Regions from separate parts of the Homo sapiens genome. Here region 1 is linked to region 2. Evidence: promoter capture Hi-C in 16 types of primary human blood cells and fetal thymus (Javierre and others, 2016). All regions are on one chromosome and are shown on one strand. Each heading gives the region's core, a stretch centred on a gene start or on the middle of the fragment in contact. The rest is flanking DNA. Distances are from core to core; before and after follow the strand shown.

The links. Contacts are between HindIII fragments. The CHiCAGO score rates a contact against its expected background, and 5 or more counts as called.
Region 1: a contact is called between the fragment with the promoter of EXOSC5 here and the fragment with the promoter of CYP2B6 in region 2, in 6 of 17 cell types (total CD8 T cells, total CD4 T cells, total B cells and 3 more). The highest score is 9.8, in total CD8 T cells.

The regions. Positions count from the first base shown.
Region 1 is chr19:41,395,812-41,402,225 of GRCh38, reverse strand. EXOSC5 (exosome component 5) reads left to right here and starts at 4,867. Exons shown (of 6, transcript NM_020158.4): 1 at 4,867-5,045. The coding sequence starts at 4,898. It overlaps BCKDHA (branched chain keto acid dehydrogenase E1 subunit alpha), which reads right to left and starts at 4,408. Exons shown (of 9, transcript NM_000709.4): 1 at 4,291-4,408. The coding sequence starts at 4,398. RefSeq lists enhancers at 3,553-4,224, 4,380-4,659, 4,225-4,897 and a silencer at 4,656-4,944. The HindIII fragment of the contact is 9,689 bases long and covers 1-6,414 here.
Region 2 is chr19:40,986,617-40,992,872 of GRCh38, reverse strand. It overlaps CYP2B6 (cytochrome P450 family 2 subfamily B member 6), which reads right to left and starts at 1,591. Exons shown (of 9, transcript NM_000767.5): 1 at 1,397-1,591. The coding sequence starts at 1,567. RefSeq lists cis regulatory regions at 1,826-1,849, 3,224-3,236, promoters at 1,586-3,251, 1,552-3,820 and enhancers at 3,278-3,297, 3,280-3,327. The HindIII fragment of the contact is 6,148 bases long and covers 1,338-6,256 here.

The DNA of each region.
Region 1 (6,414 bases), core at 3,618-6,117, 410 kb before region 2:
ATTCCCACATGTTGTGGGAAGGAGCCAGTGGGAGGTAATTGAATTATGGGGGTGGATCTTTCACGTGCTGTTCTCATTATACTGAATAAGTCTCACGAGATCTGATGGTTTTATAAAGGGGAGTTCCCCTGCAAGCACTCTGTCTGCCTGCCACCATGTAAGATGTGACTTTGCTCCTCATTTGCCTTCCGCCATGTTTGTGAGGCTTCCCCAGCCATGTGGAACTGTGAGTCCATTAAGCCTCTTTTTCTTTATAAATTACCCAGTCTTGGGTGTGTTTTTATTAGCAGCCTGAAAACGGACTAATACATACACTGAGTACCTACCACTTGGAGATACTGCACAGGGCACTGGAACCCCCAGACAGGCTGCCCCTGAAGAGCTGGGTCACAGAAATAGTCACCGATAATTAGCACAGAGCGAGCTCCAGGGGCTTCCTGACTTCCAACAGGGTAGGGACTCTATTCACCCCACTAGCTAGGGTCAGAGAGGTGAAATGACTTAGCCAAGCCCAGGCCTGGGGTAGTGGCTGAGAAACTGACTCACAATTCCTTGACAATCTGAGTTTCCTTCCTCCTCCTTTCCCTGAGCACTAAAACGTCTGCTATGATAACAGAGACAGGAAGGGAGGTGAAAATCAGGCAAACACATCTGCAGGGCAGCAGGGTATTCAATGAAGGAGTGGGCAGAGCAGGGGCAAGAAGTCGGGGACAAGTAAAGCAGCCCCACTCCTCCTTCTAATCCAATCTTCCCCAGTGAACCCAGTAATCCAATCTGTCTACAATATGCAGCCTCTCAACCTTTCCCTGACTATTTCTTCATCTCCACCTGGATAAAACTGCATCATCTTAGCCAGGCATGGTGGCTCACACCTGTAATCCCAGCACTCTGGGAGGCCGAGGTGGGTGGGTCGCCTGAGGTCGGGAGTTCAAGACCAGCCTGATCAACATGGAGAAACCCTGTCTCTACTAAAAATACAAAATTAGCCAGGCATGGTGGTGCATGCCTGTAATCCCAGCTACTCGGGAGGCTGAGGCAGGAGAATCGCTTGAACCCAGGAAGAGGAGGTTGTGGTGAGCCAAGATCATGCCATTGCACTCCAGCCTAGGCAATGAGAGCAAAACTCCACCTCGAAAAAACAAAAAACAAAACAAAACAAAAACCCTGCACCATCTAATGTGGCAGCCACCAACCACTTGTGGCTATCTTATTTTGAGACAGAGGGCTGCTCTGTCACCTAGGCTGGGGTATAGTGGTGCGATCTCGGCTCACTGCAATCTCCGCCTCCCAGGTTCAAGCGATTCTTCTGCCTCAGCCTCCCAAGTAGCTGGGACTACAGGCACACGCCATTACGCCCAGCTAATTTTTTTGTATTTTTAGTAGAGATGGGGTTTCACCATGTTGGCCAGGCTGGTCTTGAACTCCTGGCCTCAGGCAACCCGCCCACCTTGGCCTCTCAAAATGCTGGGATTACAGGCATGAGCCACCGCACCCAGCCCACTTGTGGCTACTTAAACTTAAACTCATGATAATTTAATAATATGGCCAGGCAAGGTGGCTCACGCTTGTCATCCTGCACTTTGGGAGGCTGAGGCAGGAAGATCGCTTGAGTCCAGGAGTTCAAGACCAGCCTGGAAAACATGGCAAAACCCCATCTCTACAAAGATTTAAAAATTAGCCAGGCGCAGCCAGGCACAGTGGCTTATGCCTGTAATCCCAGCACTTTGGGAGGCCGAGGCGGGCAGATCACCTTAGATCAGGAGTTCAAGACCAGCCTGGTCAACATGGTGAAACCCCATCTCTACTAAAAATACAAAAATTAACTGGGTATGGTGGCGCACGCCAGTAGTCCCAGCTATTTGGGAGGCTGAGGCAGGAGAATCACTTGAACCTGGGAAGTGGAGGTTGCAGTGAGCCGAGATCGTGCCACTGCACTCCAGCTTGGGTGACAGAGCAAGACTCCGTCTCAAAAAAAAAAAAAAAAATTAAAAATTAGCCAGGCGTAGTAGCACGTGCCTGTGGTCCCAGCTACTTAGGAGGTGGAGGTGGGGGGATTGCTTGAGCCCAGGAGGTTGAGGCTGCAGTGAGCCATGATCACACCACTGCACTCACTCCAGCCTGGGTGACAGAGTGAGACCTTGTCTCAAAAAAAGAAAAGGCTAGGCGCAGTGGCTCATGCTTTTGGAGGCCAAGACAGGCGGAACTTGAGGCCAGAAGTTCGAGACCAGCCTGGACAACATGGTGAAACCTCGTCCCTACCAAAAATACAAAAATTAGCCAGGCGTGATAGTGCATGCCTGTAATCCCAGCTACTAGGGAGGCTGAGGCAGGAGAATTGCTTGAACTCGGCAGGCAGAGATTGCAGTAAGTCAAGATCATGCTGCTGCACTCCAGCCTAGGCGAGAGAGTGAAACTCTGTCTCAAAAAAGAAAAAAAAAGAAAAAGGAAAGAGAGGTACAGAAAGAAAGAGAGAGAGAAAAGAGAAGAGAAAAGGAAAGGAAAGGAAAGGGAAAAAGAAAAGAAAAGAAAAAGGAGAGGGGAGGAGAGGAGAGGAGAAGGAGAGGAAAGAAAGAAGAAGAGAGAAAGAACAGGTGGGAGAAATAAAGGGGAAAAAACAATAACTCTTAAGATAATACAAATTTAAATATATATAAATAAAAAGTAGGGACTTCTTCCCTCCCCACTCCCCACCAAAAATGAAGTAGGGGAAGCAAGAGGAAAGGTAATCAAGAGATTGAGACAGGAGAGAAAGATTTAATCAGCCATAAATGACCTTTCCCTAGCCTGCCCCAGTCCTGCCCACCTCCTGCCCCACTTGCCCAGCCAATGGGCCCCTGGGACTGAGATCAGCTGTGGAGGATATGAACTGCTCAAAAAAAAAAAAAAAAAAAAAAGTGAAAAGGTCTCCAGCCCAAAGGCAAGAGACTGCCCTACCCACACCTTGCTCCTGCAGCCCTTCTGTATTTACCTGTTTCAAGTGACTCCGTTCCTAGATACCTACTACGTCCTACTCCTGGCCCATCTTCTTCACCCTCCTCCCGTTTGTTCCCCTACCCAGAGCTTCTTTCTACAGATTCCATCTTCCCCTCCTTATGGATTGGGGATCAGAGGATCAGACTCAACCTCACAATATCTTTTCAGATTTTTTTCCCCAGGGCCTCACCAATCCAGGCCTTCCCAAGGTCACCCCTTTCTTCTCCCCATCTCCAAGGTTAGTTTCTGTCCCTTCCCTCCACCCTCACTATCAACATTCCTATTGCCCTTAGGATGTGCCAGGTCCAGTCCTTAGCATTTTACATATTGATTTTTCACAGCCCTATGAGGTGGCCACTGTTAATATTTTAGAGAGGAAAATTAGCTCCATAGATCCAGAGAAGTGCAGTCCGTTGGCCAAGGCTACACAAGTGGAAAGCGGCAGAGCAAGGACATGCATCCACCCATGTAACCACTACTCTCCTATCTGTCAACTGTAGTTCAAAGCTCTTCTGCAACCCATTGCCTCTCCCCGTCTAAAGATAGGCTTCCACCTAGGTTTTTTGCAGTGTAATCTTGCCCTTAGCAGCATCCACCTGAAGGGATTGTGACCCTTTTGACAAGAAACAAAGCCTTCTCAAGTGTTTCTAAGAAATGTGGGCAAAGTGCCCTGTCTGTACCTCTCTCCCTCCTTTTTTCCCCTCATTAATTCAACAAATATTAATCGTCTCCTCTGTACAGTGTCCAGAACACACGAATTCTCTGTCTTGATATTCGATCAAGAGACACAGGAATCAAACAAATTTTTTACACAATTCATTTTAAAATCAGAATTGTGGCAAAGGAGCAAAGAAATACAAGGCCCTATGCAGCCTGTGACAGGGACCTGTTCTCTTCTTTCTTCTTCTTGAAGAGGGATCTTTGCCCAGAAGAAAGTCCCTCCCTTACAAAGTCAGTTTCATTCTCCAAACCCTGAGGGAGAAGGTCTTGCGGTCTTCCCCTGTTCCTCCAAGGAGCCTCCCCTGAATACCAGTGGCAGCTAATAAGGAACCCCCATCTCTCTCTTCAAGTCGTCTCCCTCAGGGCCCACAAAGAAGTTGCAAACGGGTTTTTTCCTCTCCTAAAGAAGTGGAAGTTCTTTTCGTCTCCTAAGGAAGTGGCAGATCTTCCCTTCGGTGTCTTCTCCAAGGAGTCTCCCACTCTTTTTCCCTTTTGTGACAGCCCTTCCTTCATATCCTTCAGGGACCCCACACTCTGAAGATAGCCTTTACATCCCTAATCCCCTTTGGGAAAACCGCCTGGGGCCCAGGTACTCACAGATCTAGCCAGTCCCCGAGCCCCAGGCTGCCGCAGCAGCAGGAGGGCAGCCTGGCTCAAACCACGGTTTAGCCGCCAGACCCTCGCTGCAGCGATCGCTACCGCCATCTTGGCTAACAACCACTCAGCGGTCCGGCACTCACGTAGGCTAGATTCGGGGCTGCCTCTTTATGTGCCTGACGCAAACTCCAGCACCATCTGACAAGAAAACCATCTTCTTCCCGTTCTGTGGTAGATAGAATGCACAGAGATTTGGAGAAAAAAAAATCTATCTACCCAAAATTTTCTCCAATCGCCTCATTGTAGTTACTCCTGTAACAGGCAAAGAAGAGGGCAACCTGACCAGGGCCTCAGGGATTTAGGGCCCGGGGGCCCAGAGTAAAGCGGATCAATGCCAAGGCCTGCCTTCTGTTCCCAAATGTCCAATGGCGTTGCCAGAGTTAGGAGGTGGGACTGGGCGGAGCCAGATTGTTGGTAAACGCTAAGCCACGTGCGGACGCCCAGGAGGATGGCCCAGCCCGGCGCGTGCGCACTGGTTACGCAGCCTGTTTGCGGCGCGCGCTGCCAGGCGGAAGTGACAACTGCAGCCGCACGTGGGCTCGGCGCGATGGAGGAGGAGACGCATACTGACGCCAAAATCCGTGCTGAAAATGGAACAGGGTCCAGCCCTCGGGGTCCTGGCTGCAGCCTCCGGCACTTTGCCTGCGAACAGAACCTGCTGTCGCGGCCAGATGGCTCTGCTTCCTTCCTGCAAGGTAAGAACTTCACCCAGGTCTTTCTTTTGGAGAGGGACTACCGTGTACTGTGCAACCGAGTGCCCACCTCCTCACGATACCAGCTGGTAAATGTCACTCCTGCGTTGATGCATGATTTCTTGTCCGATTGAATACTACTAAATACGCAGGGATACACACATCTCTCCCTCACGACTAGAAAGGAGAAGATAGTTCCATCTTTGTAACTATCTCTGAGAATGAGAGGAGGGGCAGACTGTCCGCCCAAGAATTGATATTTCAGAATAGGGAAAATCACCTCGCCAGGGTAAATATCCCCCTTAACTCGATTCCTCCTCCACCCTCCCACCCCCACCCCCCACACACACACCCTCTAGGTCCTTGCATCCCGGACTGAAGCAAACCTGTCTATTTGCATACTGTGGACTGTGGCGGATCTTTCACCCACGTAAATACTCCTCAAATTGAAGATAATGTCATTGCGCTGGGTTGAGAAATACATCCCCACCGCTACCTCACTGCATCTCTCCACACAAGTAAATATCCCTAAGATTAGGGCAAGTCAAAAAAAAAAAAAAAAAAAAGATTAGGGCAAGTCTTACCTATAGAGCAAATATCCCCTTTTCCTAGCTAAATAACTCTCAGAAGTAGATTAACTCCAAGAATATTTCTCTTTAACGTTTGAGACGGGAGGCCGGGGGCGGTGGCTCACGCCTGTAATCCCCACACTTTGGGAGGCCAAGACCTGTGGCTCACCTGAGGTCAGGAGTTCGAGACCAGCCTGGCCAACATGGCGAAACCCTGTCTCTACTAAAAATACAAAAACTAGCCAGGCATGGTGGCGGGCGCCTGTAATCCCAGCTACTCGGGAGGCTGAGGCAGGACAATCACTTGAACCTGGGAGGCAGAAGTTGCAGTGGGCCGAGATCGTGCCATTGTACTCCAGCGTGAGCGACAAAGCAAGACTCTGTCTCAAAAAAAAAAAAAATTGAGACAGCGTCTCACGATGTCACCCAGGTTGGTCTTGAACTCCTGGGCTCAAGCAATCCTCCTCCCAAAGTGCTCATACAGGTATGAGCCACCACGCCCAGCCCCAATACATTTTAACAAAATTTGGCTGCTGTGTTGATTGTGGGGAGTATGGGGGAAAACAGGGAGGTGATGGTGGCTCCAGCCAGAGCAGGAGTAGTGGAGGTGATGAGATTCTGGATGTAGTTTGAAAGTAATACGGACAAAACTTACGTATAGTTTGGTTTGAGTGCGAGGAAAAAGATTCAGGCATAACTAAGGTTTCTGCCCAGATCTGTACAAGTCTGGAAATCAGAAGAGAGACCCAAGCTGGACATAGGCAATTTGGAACTCTCTGGCTATATAGATGGTATTTCAGGCT
Region 2 (6,256 bases), core at 342-2,841:
CTGAGAGCCATCATAACAGTCTCCCTGATGTGTTGTATTTTCTCAAGAGTCTTGGCCGGGTGCGGTGGCTCACACATGTAATCCTAGCACTTTGGGAGGCCGAGGCAGGTGGATTGCTTGAGCCCAGGAGTTTAAGACCAGTCTGGGCAACATGGCAAAACCCTGTCTCTACAAAAAATACAAAAATTAGCTGGGCGTGGTGGCATGCACCTGTAGTTCCAGCTACTTGGGGGGCTGAGGCAGGAGGATCACTTGAGCCTTGGGAGGTCAAGGCTGCAGTGAGACGTGATCATGCCACAGCACTTCAGCCTGGCTGACAGAGTGAGGCCCTGTCTCAGAAAAAAAAAGAGTCTTAAATGCTCATATGCAGCCATTCTTTGTACATCCAGTGGGCTCATTACAGTGGGAACAACAAAAACATGAAGAAAAGGTAAAGAATCACTCAACTACGTTGACATTGTCCATTGTGAATTCCATACTGAGAGCAGACAAGTCCATTATGATGGTGACAGAAGTAATGTTGATGCCCAAGGTTTTGGTCAATCTCAAAATTTTGAGGCTGACCAAAAGGGGAGAATTGTTTAATTAAATTAAATTTGACCTAAAGCTCTCTCTGTAGAGTGAACTGCAACCTAACTTGGGAGTATATTCTTTTTTTTTTTTTTTTTTTTGAGAAGGAGTCTCACTCTGTCACCCAGGATGGAGTGCAGTGGTAAGATTTTGGCTCACTGCAACCTCTGCCTCCTGGATTCAAGTGATTCTCCTTCCTCAGCCTCCTGGGTAGCTGAGATTACAGGCACGCATCACTATGCCCAGCTAATATTTGTATTTTTAGTAGAGACAAGGTTTCACCATGTTGGCCAGGCTGGTCTCGAACTCCTGACCTCAGGTGATCCACCACCTCGGCCTCCAAAAGCACTGGGATTACAGGCATGAGCCACTGCACCTGGCCCAAATGAATATATTCTTGTGACAAGTAGCCAAGTGTTGGCTAATCAGAGCAGCTGGGCTTTCAGTCCACACAGGCTGCAAACTGCTCAGATTGTGACCAAGTAAGGCAAGCTGTGATCTGTGGCCAATCAGGCTGTTTCTGTATGTCACCTCCTTTTTCTGCCTGTAAATACCACTTGACCATACTGCCGTGTGGTGTCTTTCCTGGTTTAGGGAGCTGTCCAACTCATGAGTCACTTCTTTGCTCAAATAAACTCTGCTAAATTTAATTTGATGCTTTTCTCCTAATAATACCACCCATCATGCTTCACCATGCTCCGTACTCACCAACCATGCCCGTGCCACCCCTGACTCTGGAAGTCTGCCTCATTCTGTTTGGTGAAGCTTCCCCAAGTACCAAGGCAAGAAGCAGCTCACCCTCAGACCCCATTCGTCTGTGTCTTACCCTCAGAAAGGATTTGAGTAGGCCTCTTCTATCCATCTGCAGAAGGTTTCCCAAAAGGGGCAGAGGGCGGGGCCCTGGTGGGAGGCGGTCATGGGTGTTAGGGTGGCGCTGAACCAGGAGTAGCAAGAGTCCTGTGAGGAGTGCAAGGAAGAGGAGGACGCTGAGTTCCATGGTCCTGGTCTGACTGCCCTGCACCCTGCTGCAGCCTCCAACTGGGCCTTTTATCCTGACCCTGCCTCTGCACCCTGTTATAAAATTTCATCCATTCCCCACCTCCTTTTTCATCATCATCCAGGAGCATTAGCTTAGAAAAAGTTGTTAGGGAACCCAGACTTCCTGCTTGGGCAACCCAGTGACCTGATGCCTATCCCTTTACCCACTCTGTAGATATTGGCAGGGATACAGTGGTAGAGATATCAAAGTCCAGGTGAGCAAGTGAATGTGTGGGTGTGTGGGTTTGTGGGTATATGTATGTCTATTTTTGTAAGCATAGGTGAGCTTGCACTTTTTTACTTAGCTTTGTCTGTTTGTCTGTGCTTGCATGCATTTGTCCATGCCTGCTTGCATCCCTGTATGTGCTTATATGATTTTTACATGTAAAGGGGTGTTTGAATTTATGCAAATGTACTGGCGTATATTTCTGTGGTTGAATCTGGGGGTGCTTATGTGTGTATCCTTGCATGTGTATGAGCTTCCTTGTATTTATACAGTTTTATATACGAAAGTGCATTTACATTTGTGTGTTGTGGAGGTGGTGGTAGTGCATGTTCAAAACTGAGAGGCTGGCTGGGTGCGGTGGCTCACACCTGTAATCCCAGCACGTTGGGAAGCTGAGGGGGGCAGATCAATTGAGGTCAAGAGTTCGAGACCATCCTGGCCCACATGGCAAAACCCCATCTGTACTAAAAACACAAAAATTAACCGGGCGTGATGGTGGGTACTTTTAATCCCAGCTACTCGGGAGGCTGAGGCAAGAGAATCACTTGAACCTGGGAGGTGGAGGCTGCAGTGAGCCAAGATTACACCACTGCACTCCAGCCTGGGTGACACAGCAATACTCCATCTCAAAAAAAAAAAAAAAAAAAAAAAAAGGAGAAGCTGATGAAAATAAGGAATTATTCAATTCAATCAAATTTGGCCTACTGCCTTTGTAGCATAGCAAACTGTAACCTAGCAATACATGAACCAATTGTGTGTATCTGTGTGTGCTGGTGTATTTGTGCTGGTGTGTTGGTGGATCTCCTAGCCCCTCTCTTTGGAAGCCTGCAGATGCTGAGTCTATCTCCAGTGTCCCCTCCTTCATCCGCCCTTCTGTGACAGCCACAGGTGGAAGTGGTCGGAGAAACAGAAGGAGGAGCAAGAGATGCAGAACTGGTGAGTCTCAGAGGAAGAGGTGGTCAGTTGGAAGGAGACAGAAACTGAGACCTGGCAGGTACAGCGATCAGGTCCTCTTGGTTTCTGATCACTCTAACTAGTGCTAAGGAGTTTCTTCCCTGCCTCTGACTATCTTCACGGTGCAGGAAATTTCTCTGGCTCTCTCTCTGTCTGACTTTGTGTCTCTGTTTTCCCCCTGGAGACTCTTGAGCTCCAGGTGTGTGCAAACTGAGTCCAGTTTGATTGATGTCTACTGGACTCCCATATGTCTCTATCCTCACTGTGCACCTTCACCCACACATCCTCTGACAGGGTCAGTCCATCTTTGCAAAACGTGGGTGTGAATGTGTGCGTGTCTGCCTGTCTCATCCTACGCCTGACTTTTGACCATGAGGCAACATCTTTCTTGCAATGTTAAGCAAACCCTTTGCTGGATCCAGGACCTGAACCCGAAGTTACTTTGACCCAGGAGGAGCAGACAAACAGTCCTATTTGTAAGAGGTGGAAACTGTACTTTCCTGACCCTGAAGAGGTGGCAGCATGGACTTTCCTGAACCAAGGGCCTCGGTCTTGCTGTGCTGTGTCATCTGACACTAAGATTGGGTGCTCATTGCAGCCCCAGGGTGAAGCACCGATGGGGAGGCGTGAAGTGCTTTACACACAGTAACTCAGTCTTTACACTCTTAGTGAGGTATTGTTGCCATCCCCATTTTATAGATGGAGATATTGAAGCAATGACAGTTTGCAAGTCTTACCCAAGGTCATACAGTGGGTTGGGGCTACATTGTCCAATGTGATAGTCACTTGCTGCATGTGGCCACTAATTAAGTACTTGAAATGTGGTCCAAATGCTATTTACAATAGCAAAAATAGGGAATCAACAGATGAATGGTTAAATAAAATGTGGTATATATACACCATTGAATACTATTTAGCCATAAAAAGGAATAAAATAATGTCTTTTATAGCAACATGGATACAACTGGAGGGGATTATCTTAAGTGAAACAAGCCAGGCACAGAAAGTGAATATCACATGTTCTCATTCATAAGTGGGTGCTAAACAATGTGTACACATGGACATAGAGAGTGGCATTATCAGGGGAAATTCAGCCAGATATCGGGCAAAATTCACCCCCAATATTCCACGTAGGTTCTTTTCTGTTCTCCCTAAGTGTCGGCCAGCCTGAGAAATAAAGGGACAGAGCACAAAAGAGAGAAATTTTAAAGCTGGGGGTCCGGGGGAGACATCACATGTCGGCAGGTTCCATGATGCCCCCTGAGCCGTAAAACCAGAAAGTTTTTATTAGTGATTTTCAAAAGGGGAGGGAGTGTACGAATAGGGTGTAGGTCACAGAGATCACATGCTTCACAAGGTAATAAGATATAACAAGGCAAATGGAGGCAGGGCGAGATCACAGGACCACAGGACCGGGGTGAAATTAAAATTGCAATGAAGTTTCGGGCAAGCATTGTCATTGATAACATCTTATCAGGAGACAAGGTTTGAGAGCAGACAACCGGTCTGACCAAAATTTATTAGGCAGGAATTTCCTCATGGATCCTTTGCTCGATTGATCCTTTTATCATTATGTATTGACCTTCTTTGTCTCTTTTTACAGTTTTTGACTTAAAGTCTGTTTCCTTTATAAACATAGGTATTGCTGCTCACTTTTGGTTTTTATTTGCATGGAATATCTTTTCTCATTTCTTTACTTTCACTATATATGTCTTTCCTGGTGAGATGTGTTTCTTGTAGGCAGCATATAGCTGGGTCATGCTTTTTAAATCCATTCAGCCAGTCTCTTTCTTTTAAGTGGAAAGTTTAATCCATTTAATTCAAGGTTATTATTGATATGTGAGAGCTTAATCCTGTCATATTATTAGTTGGCTTCTTTATGTATGTATATCCTTTCTTCCTTTCTTTTTCTCTTATTGTTTATCATTGTAGTTTTGAGAGACAGGACTAGCTGGATTTCCAGATCTGTTACTATCCGAGGGGTCCTAGGACAAGCAGTCACTAGTTACTTCGCCCAGCCACTAAGTTGTAACTGGGGGACTTTACTCTTTTCACATGCCTTTCTAATTATGCCTGAAAGCCCCACTCCTTTGTTAGGGAGAGACATCCTAGCAAAAGCAGGGGCCATGATACACTAGAATTAGGAGAAGGGAAAAGGGTAAATATATATAAACACTCTAATTATGCTTACCTTCTCCTCCATGCCTACACAAAAATATGGTGAGAAATGGAATTCCTAACTTCTGAGGGAACACCTATTAAACATCAGGAAGCCATTATGAGTTATTATGGGCTGTACGGAAACCTAAAGAGGTGGCCATCTTACACTGCTGGGGTCATCAGAAAGGAAAGGAAAGGGAAATAGAAGGGAACCACCAAGCAGATATTGAAGCCAAAGAGCCACAAGGCGGGACCCTCCATTAGAAATGCTTATAGAAGGAACCCTAGTATGGGGTAATCCCCTCCAGGAAACCAAGCCCCAGTGCTCAGCAGAAGAAATAGAATGGGGTACCTCACAAGGACATAGTTCCCTCCCCTCAGGATGTCTAGCCACCAAAGAAGGAAAAATACTTTTGCCTGCAGCTAACCAATGGAAATTACTTAAAACCCTTCACCAAACCTTTCATTTAGGCGTTGATAGCACCCATCCAATGGCCAAATCATTATTTGCTGGACCAGGCCTTTTCAAAACTATCAAGCAGGTAGTCAGGGCCTGTGAAGTGTGCCAAAGAAATAATCCCCTGCACTTCAGGCCAGACATTTCAATCCCTGTGTCTTTAACCTCCTTGTTAAGTTTGTCTCTTCCAGAATTGAAGCTGTAAAACTACAAATAGTTCTTCAAACGGAGCCCCAGGTGCAGTCCATGGCTAAGATCTACGGCAGACCCCTGGATCTGCCTCCTAGCCCATGCTCCAATGTTGATGACATCAAAGACATCCCTCCTGAGGAAATCTCAACTGCATGACCCCTATTATGCCCCCATTCAGCAGAAAGAAGTTAGTACAGTTGTTGGCCAACCTCCCCAACAGCACTTGGGTTTTCCTGTTGAGAGGGGGTACTGAGAGACAGGACTAGCTGGATTTCCTAGGCCGACTAAGAGTTCCTAAGCCTAGCTGGGGAAGGTGACTGCACCCACCTTTAAACAAAGGTCTTGTAACTCAGCTCACACCTGACCAATCAGGTAGTAAAGAGGGCTCACTAAAATACCAATTAGGCTAAAAGTAGGAGGTAAAGAAATAGTCAAATCATCTATCATCTGAGAGCACAGGGAGAGGGACAATGATTGGGATATAAACCCCAGGCATTGGAGCCAGGGGTGGGCAACCCCCTTTGGGTCCCCTCTCTTTGTATTGGAGCTCTGTTTTCACTCTATTAAATCTTGCCAATGCACACTCTTCTGGTCCATGTTTGTTCCAGCTTGAGCTGAGCTTTTGCTCGCTGTCCACCACTGCTGAATGCCGCCTGCCG